Linked DNA regions of Homo sapiens: region 1 is linked to region 2. The links are contacts of gene promoters, found by promoter capture Hi-C in blood cells and fetal thymus (Javierre and others, 2016). All regions are on one chromosome and are shown on one strand. The core of a region is centred on a gene start or on the middle of the fragment in contact, and the rest is flanking DNA. Distances in the headings are between cores, read along the strand shown. Region 1 overlaps LRRFIP1 (LRR binding FLII interacting protein 1). Region 2 holds the start of LRRFIP1 (LRR binding FLII interacting protein 1).

What was found. Contacts are between HindIII fragments. The CHiCAGO score rates a contact against its expected background, and 5 or more counts as called.
Region 1: a contact is called between a fragment that was not itself captured here and the fragment with the promoter of LRRFIP1 in region 2, in 3 of 17 cell types (total B cells, naive B cells and monocytes). The highest score is 9.1, in total B cells.

What each region holds. Positions count from the first base shown.
Region 1 is chr2:237,727,021-237,729,720 of GRCh38, reverse strand. It overlaps LRRFIP1 (LRR binding FLII interacting protein 1), which reads right to left. Exons shown (of 24, transcript NM_001137550.2): 8 at 1,786-1,845. Among named protein-coding and RNA genes, the nearest start is that of RBM44, 70 kb to the left of the region's middle. The HindIII fragment of the contact is 630 bases long and covers 1,107-1,736 here.
Region 2 is chr2:237,626,330-237,629,029 of GRCh38, reverse strand. LRRFIP1 (LRR binding FLII interacting protein 1) reads right to left here and starts at 1,443. Exons shown (of 24, transcript NM_001137550.2): 1 at 1,290-1,443. The coding sequence starts at 1,385. The HindIII fragment of the contact is 5,154 bases long and covers 458-2,700 here.

The DNA.
Region 1 (2,700 bases), core at 172-2,671, 100 kb before region 2:
CACCCCCATCCCATTCAAAAGGCGAACATGGAACAGCACAACCGAGCCAACACTAGGAGCCCAGGAACGCTAGTTTATCTAAAGACGCGAGGCACAAACAGTACAGCAGAGATTCTTAACAACTGGAGATTCTAAGCTGTATTTTCACCTTCAGTGTTTGTGTCTTGGTGATGCCAGGGGTGTATCTAGTACTGCTTTTCACAATCTCATATCCCTAGCACGATTCGTAATTACTGAGTTTCACACTGCGTTGTCAGTAAACTCCTTGTCTTATCTCCTTGGGTAACTAAAATTCCATTTATTGCAAAATTTTCAATCTTTCTTCAGCCCAGCCCGCCTGCGGGCTATAGCTCAGCCCTGGGGTGCCAGAAAGGTGGGTGGAGTGTGACAGCCTGCTGCCACCCGTCCACTGGAGAGCCCTTATCCACAGAGTGCAAATGCCCTGAAGGCCATCTTTACGTGTCTTGAGTATACATTTTTAAAATGTCGCATCCAGCCGGGTGCCATGGCTCATGCCTGTAATCCCAGCATTTTGGGAGGCCGAGGTGCGCAGATCACCTGAGGTCAGGAGTTCGAGACCAGCCTGGCCAGCAGGGTGAAACTCCATCTCTACTAAAAAATACAAAAAAAATTAGCCAGGTGTGGTAGTGGATGCCTGTAATCCAAGCTACTTGGGAGGCTGAGGCAGGAGAATCGCTCGAACCCAGGAGGCAGAGGTTGCAGTGAGCTGAGATAGCACCACTGCACTCCAGCCTGGGTGAGGGCACGAGACTTTGTCTCAAAAAATAAATAATTAAAGTGCATGCAATGCTAAATAGGTAAATAGGAATGAGCAAGTAAAAACAACTTGATCAGCTGGTTTCAGAAAGCTAAAGACGGCTTTGGTCGGGGAGAGGGAAGAAGGTCTGGGTGGGGTCACTCATTTGAAGCCCAAAAGTATAATTTAAGCATACACATGATATCTTAATATAACATAATTAAGATAAATGAAAAGAAATACTATTTTACACAATTAGGAATATTACTAAAAGAAAAAAATGAAGCATGAGAACAGGAAATTTTTAGACCATTTCACACAGAATGGACCTGTGGGATATCGTGAAGCTTAATGGAAATGTATCCAGTGTAACCTTCTAAAATCCCCAATGACCTCCTGTCCTTGATTAATCCAAAGCCCTCCCCACCCCCGCCCGGTCTCCCTAATGCCCCTGCCACTGGCACCACTCCCTCTCTCTCCCCCTAGAGCAGCACCCTTTCCTTCCACCAGCTCCTTCCTGCCTCCCACCCCTTAACTGGGAGCCTTCCAAGCATCTGCATTGTTTTATTCTCCTTTTCCTCTCCAGAAAAACACAGGTGCTTGTACACATGCCTTTAAGGTAAACATTAAAATTACAAATGACAGATGTGGAGACTGCGAAAATGTTGGATTTAGTATCTTTGAAAGCTGAATATACTTAATACACACATTATATACATACACCCAGGGGAATACAGTAATGAAAGAGTTAATCTTTAATTTCAGATCTTTTAAAACTTGAGATTCTTATCAATATCTACCCCTTATACTAACAATCAGAATGTTGGAGGGCTAACATTCTCAGAATGTTTGCTAGTTGAAAAACATTATCTTTCATTCCATCATGTGCTAGGAAAAAAAAGACAGACCGATTTTAAAATTTAAAAACAGCAAAGAAGCTAAATTTAAATTTAGCAATTAGTTTTTAGTTCTAGAAGCTTTGAAACAACCTATTTGAATTTTGAGCCATGCAAATTTACTATACTAACCCTGCCAGATCTTCTATTCAGGGACTGTGATCCATACAATTCTCCATCATAACCATTTGTCTGTTTCAATGAAGAAAAGAGAAAAACTGACATCAGTACACAAATGAATTCACAGGTACAAATCAGCAGGGACCAACCAGCCAGGTATAAGGTGACCTTTCTTGTGGAGCGGATGAATGACCAGTCCAGGACAGTACAAGTCCTGGCAGCTCCCAAACTGCATCCCTGCCGCCGTCTGCTCCCCCGCAGCTCAGGAGGGAACAGCAGTCAAGCTAACCAAGTCAGTAGGCTTCATGTCACATGCCACTCTTAGTTTTAAAGTGGCACCAAGTCCCTCCACGGGGTGGAACATTTGGGCTTGGTGTGGCCATTTCCTTGTCAGGCTGTTTCTGGTTTTATGGTGGCTCTGTGGACATTCTGCTTGCAAGAAGCCACATGCCAGGCCGATGGGTAGTGATTCAGCCTGAGTCAATGAGTTTTCAGTTCCTGGTTCAGGGTCTTTGAAAATTATGGCACATTGTGATGCTATGGGCCATAATTCAGAAGATTCAGAGATCATTTCTTTTTTTTTTTTTTTTTTGAGACAGAGTCTCGCTCTGTCGCCCAGGCTAGAATGCAGTAGTGTGAGCTCAGCTCACTGCAACCTCTGCCTCCCTGGTTCAAGTGATTCTCCTGCCTCAGCCTCCTGAGTAGCTGGGATTACAGGCGTGCGTCACCACGCCCGGCTAATTTTTGCATTTTTAGTAGAGACGGGGTTTCATCATGTTGGTCAGGCTGGTCTCGAACTCCTGACCTCGTGATCCGCCCGCCTTGGCCTCCCAAAGTGCTGGGATTACAGGCGTGAGCCATCGCGCCCGGCCTCAGAAATTATTTCTAGTCAATCTATAGTTAAACGCAAAAGTTCATCGTGGGGTA
Region 2 (2,700 bases), core at 194-2,693:
CGTGGAGCCAGGGAGACTTAGGCCTGGTGCGATGTGAGAGGGCTGAGTCTGGAAGGTCTCCTGGAGGTCACAGTGGGCTTCCAGGAATGAATAAGGGTTTGCCTGGAAAGCCCTTTTCTGTATCATACAGAGAAAAACAGAAGTCTTTATTCACTCAGTAGTCAACAAATACTGAGTGACTGCCACATGTCCGTAAGAGCAAAATCAGGTATTTACAACTACAAACACCTAAGGATTGGTTACAGAGTAGATCCCCCAGAATATCTGACGGATACAGCCAGACACCACAGTCCAAATGGCTTGGAGGTGTTTCCTGTGGGAAGAATCACATGTGGAAAAGCCAACACGGAAAAGAACCTGTAAGGCGGGTTACAAGGCAGAGACTTTCTTTGCATTCATACACCCACCTGGCACACAGTTCAAATGGTACAAAGGGAACACAGTCAAAAATTAAGCTTCCTTTGTCCCCCTGGGGCCGCAACCTATTGGCTCCCCTTTTCCCAAGCTGCTGCTCTCTGTCCCTGTACGGCTTTCTGGATGTCATGTACATTCTTTAGCCTTAAGGTAGAATCCTTGCGGAAGGAAAAAAAAAAAGGCATTTGTACAAATACCCATTCTAGTGCGCCTTCAATTTGTCACAGGTAAAGTTCATCACCAAACATGATCTTAGTTACAATAAACTCTGTCCAGGAAACTTTAATGAAGACGTTTCAGTGTGCCTGGACCCGTTTCCAGGCTCAGTCCTGAAAGAAAAATCACAGTGATCCCCAAGTTCATCTCTGAGCTGCACCTTGAGTGACATCGATGGATGGATGACAAATGGTCACCTGAGCGACTCGGCCATTTCAGCAGGGCCATGTGGCCTCCGGCGACCGTCCACTGCCTCCAGGTCGGGCCTAAGCCCCCGCCTCCTCCCATGCCGCACAACAAAGCGGGGCGCTCGCCCCCACCCGGCCAGCCCGGGCCACCTCGCGCGCTGGCGGCGCCCGGCTCCTCTCCCGAGGGCGCAGCGGCCGACGGTGGCCGGGGTGGGGGAGGGCGCGCAGCGTCGCGGGCTGGGCCCGGGGCTGGAGAACGGGTGCGGGGTCCGCAGGCCTCGGAGATCGGGGCCGGGGCGCAGCGCCTGGGGATCAGCGCCCCGGCGCGCGCCTGCCCGGCCCACCCGCCTGGAGCCGGACGCGCAGTGGCACAGACGCACAGCGGGACAGACGGACGCCGGAGAGACCCTGACAGCCGTCCGGCCCCCGCGCCCGCCCGGCGCCCCCCGGCTGCCCTCCCGGAGCGCTCACCTCCCGCGCGATCTGGTTGAGCGCGTCGTCCTCCGCCGTGAGCCGCTCCCGGTTGGGGAGCCGCTTGCGCCCCGATCCCTGGGTGCCCATGTCCATCGACCGCGTCGCCCGCAGCTGCCGCGGGGCCCGTTGCTCCAGCCGCTCGCGCCGCCCCGGCCCGGCCCCGGCCCCGGCCCCTCCCTCCGCCGCGGCGTCATGGCGTCAGCGGGCGCTGGGCCGGGGACGCGGGGACGCGGGGGGACGGGGGCCGCGGGGACCCGGGGGAAGCCAGAGCCGGAGGTCCGCAGCGCGGGCCAGGGACTGCAGGGGCCAGGGACGGCGGGGCGGGGGACGGGGGCGGGGGGCGGAGACGCCAGGTGTCAGGGACGATGGGGGTCCGATACCACGGGGACGCTGCGGATGCCCAGGGCCGGGCACGCGGGACCTGAGGGACCGGGAGCCCCGGAGGGTGGACTTTGCGGGGACTGTTTGGCGGGCCGGTAATCGCGGAGCGACGCGCGCCAGGGCGGTGGGCACCGGTTGAGTGGGGACCTGAGCGGAGAGCGGGGGGGTAGGAAGGCTTTCAGAGGCCTGAGTTGCCTTGAGGGGTTTGCACGGAGGGGTGAGCACAGGATTTGGTTCAGCCTGGCGCTCCCCATTCCGCGGTGAGTCGGGGTGGAAGTCCCTCGCCGGGGTGAGAGCTAGGCTCTGGGGTCAGGCCGAGAGGTGCTCGGATCCGCCCGCCACCGCCGCTCCTGTGACCTTGGCCAGCCTCCTGGGCGCCGGCTTCACAGCGGCATGGTGTGGATGTGTGCGTTTCTGTCTTTACACGCGTGTTCTCCGTGCTAGCATCCATCCTTCTCCCCGCTGTCTGCCCCCTGAGATCAAGGACTTGTCACTTCTCTGGTGGGTCCCCAGCCTCTAGGATCGGGGCAGGTGCGTCGCAGCTCTCTCCTAGTTGTTGAAAAAGTAATGAACTTACCTGTGCTCTCTGAAGCTCACAGTCTATGCTCCAGAGGTGGATTTAAAAGTAAAGCAAATCGGAGGATTAGGTAGGGGTTAAAAGCCCCTGCCTAGGGCACGGCAGGAGCACCGGGTGGGAAAGTTACTGGTGTGTTTGGGGTATGGGGAGAACTTCAGTGTGGCTGGACCTGGGGAAGGATGGGAGGGAGGGTAGTGATGGTAGAGGAGAGGAGGCTGTACTGAAGTCACCTGTGATTTTTTTCCCCCAGTGATAAGGACAGTTAACATTTCGGTGTATTTCCCACCAAGTGGTGTGACCAGATTGCTTTGGATTCTTAAGGAGGTGGCCTGGAAGCTGTATGAAGGTGGGAAGAGGAAGAGGGCCCTTCCACCCACAGTGGCAGGGAAAGCTGTTGGAGGTTTCATTGCAGGGAAAAGACAGCGAGTCCAGTGACATGGGAGGGAGGGC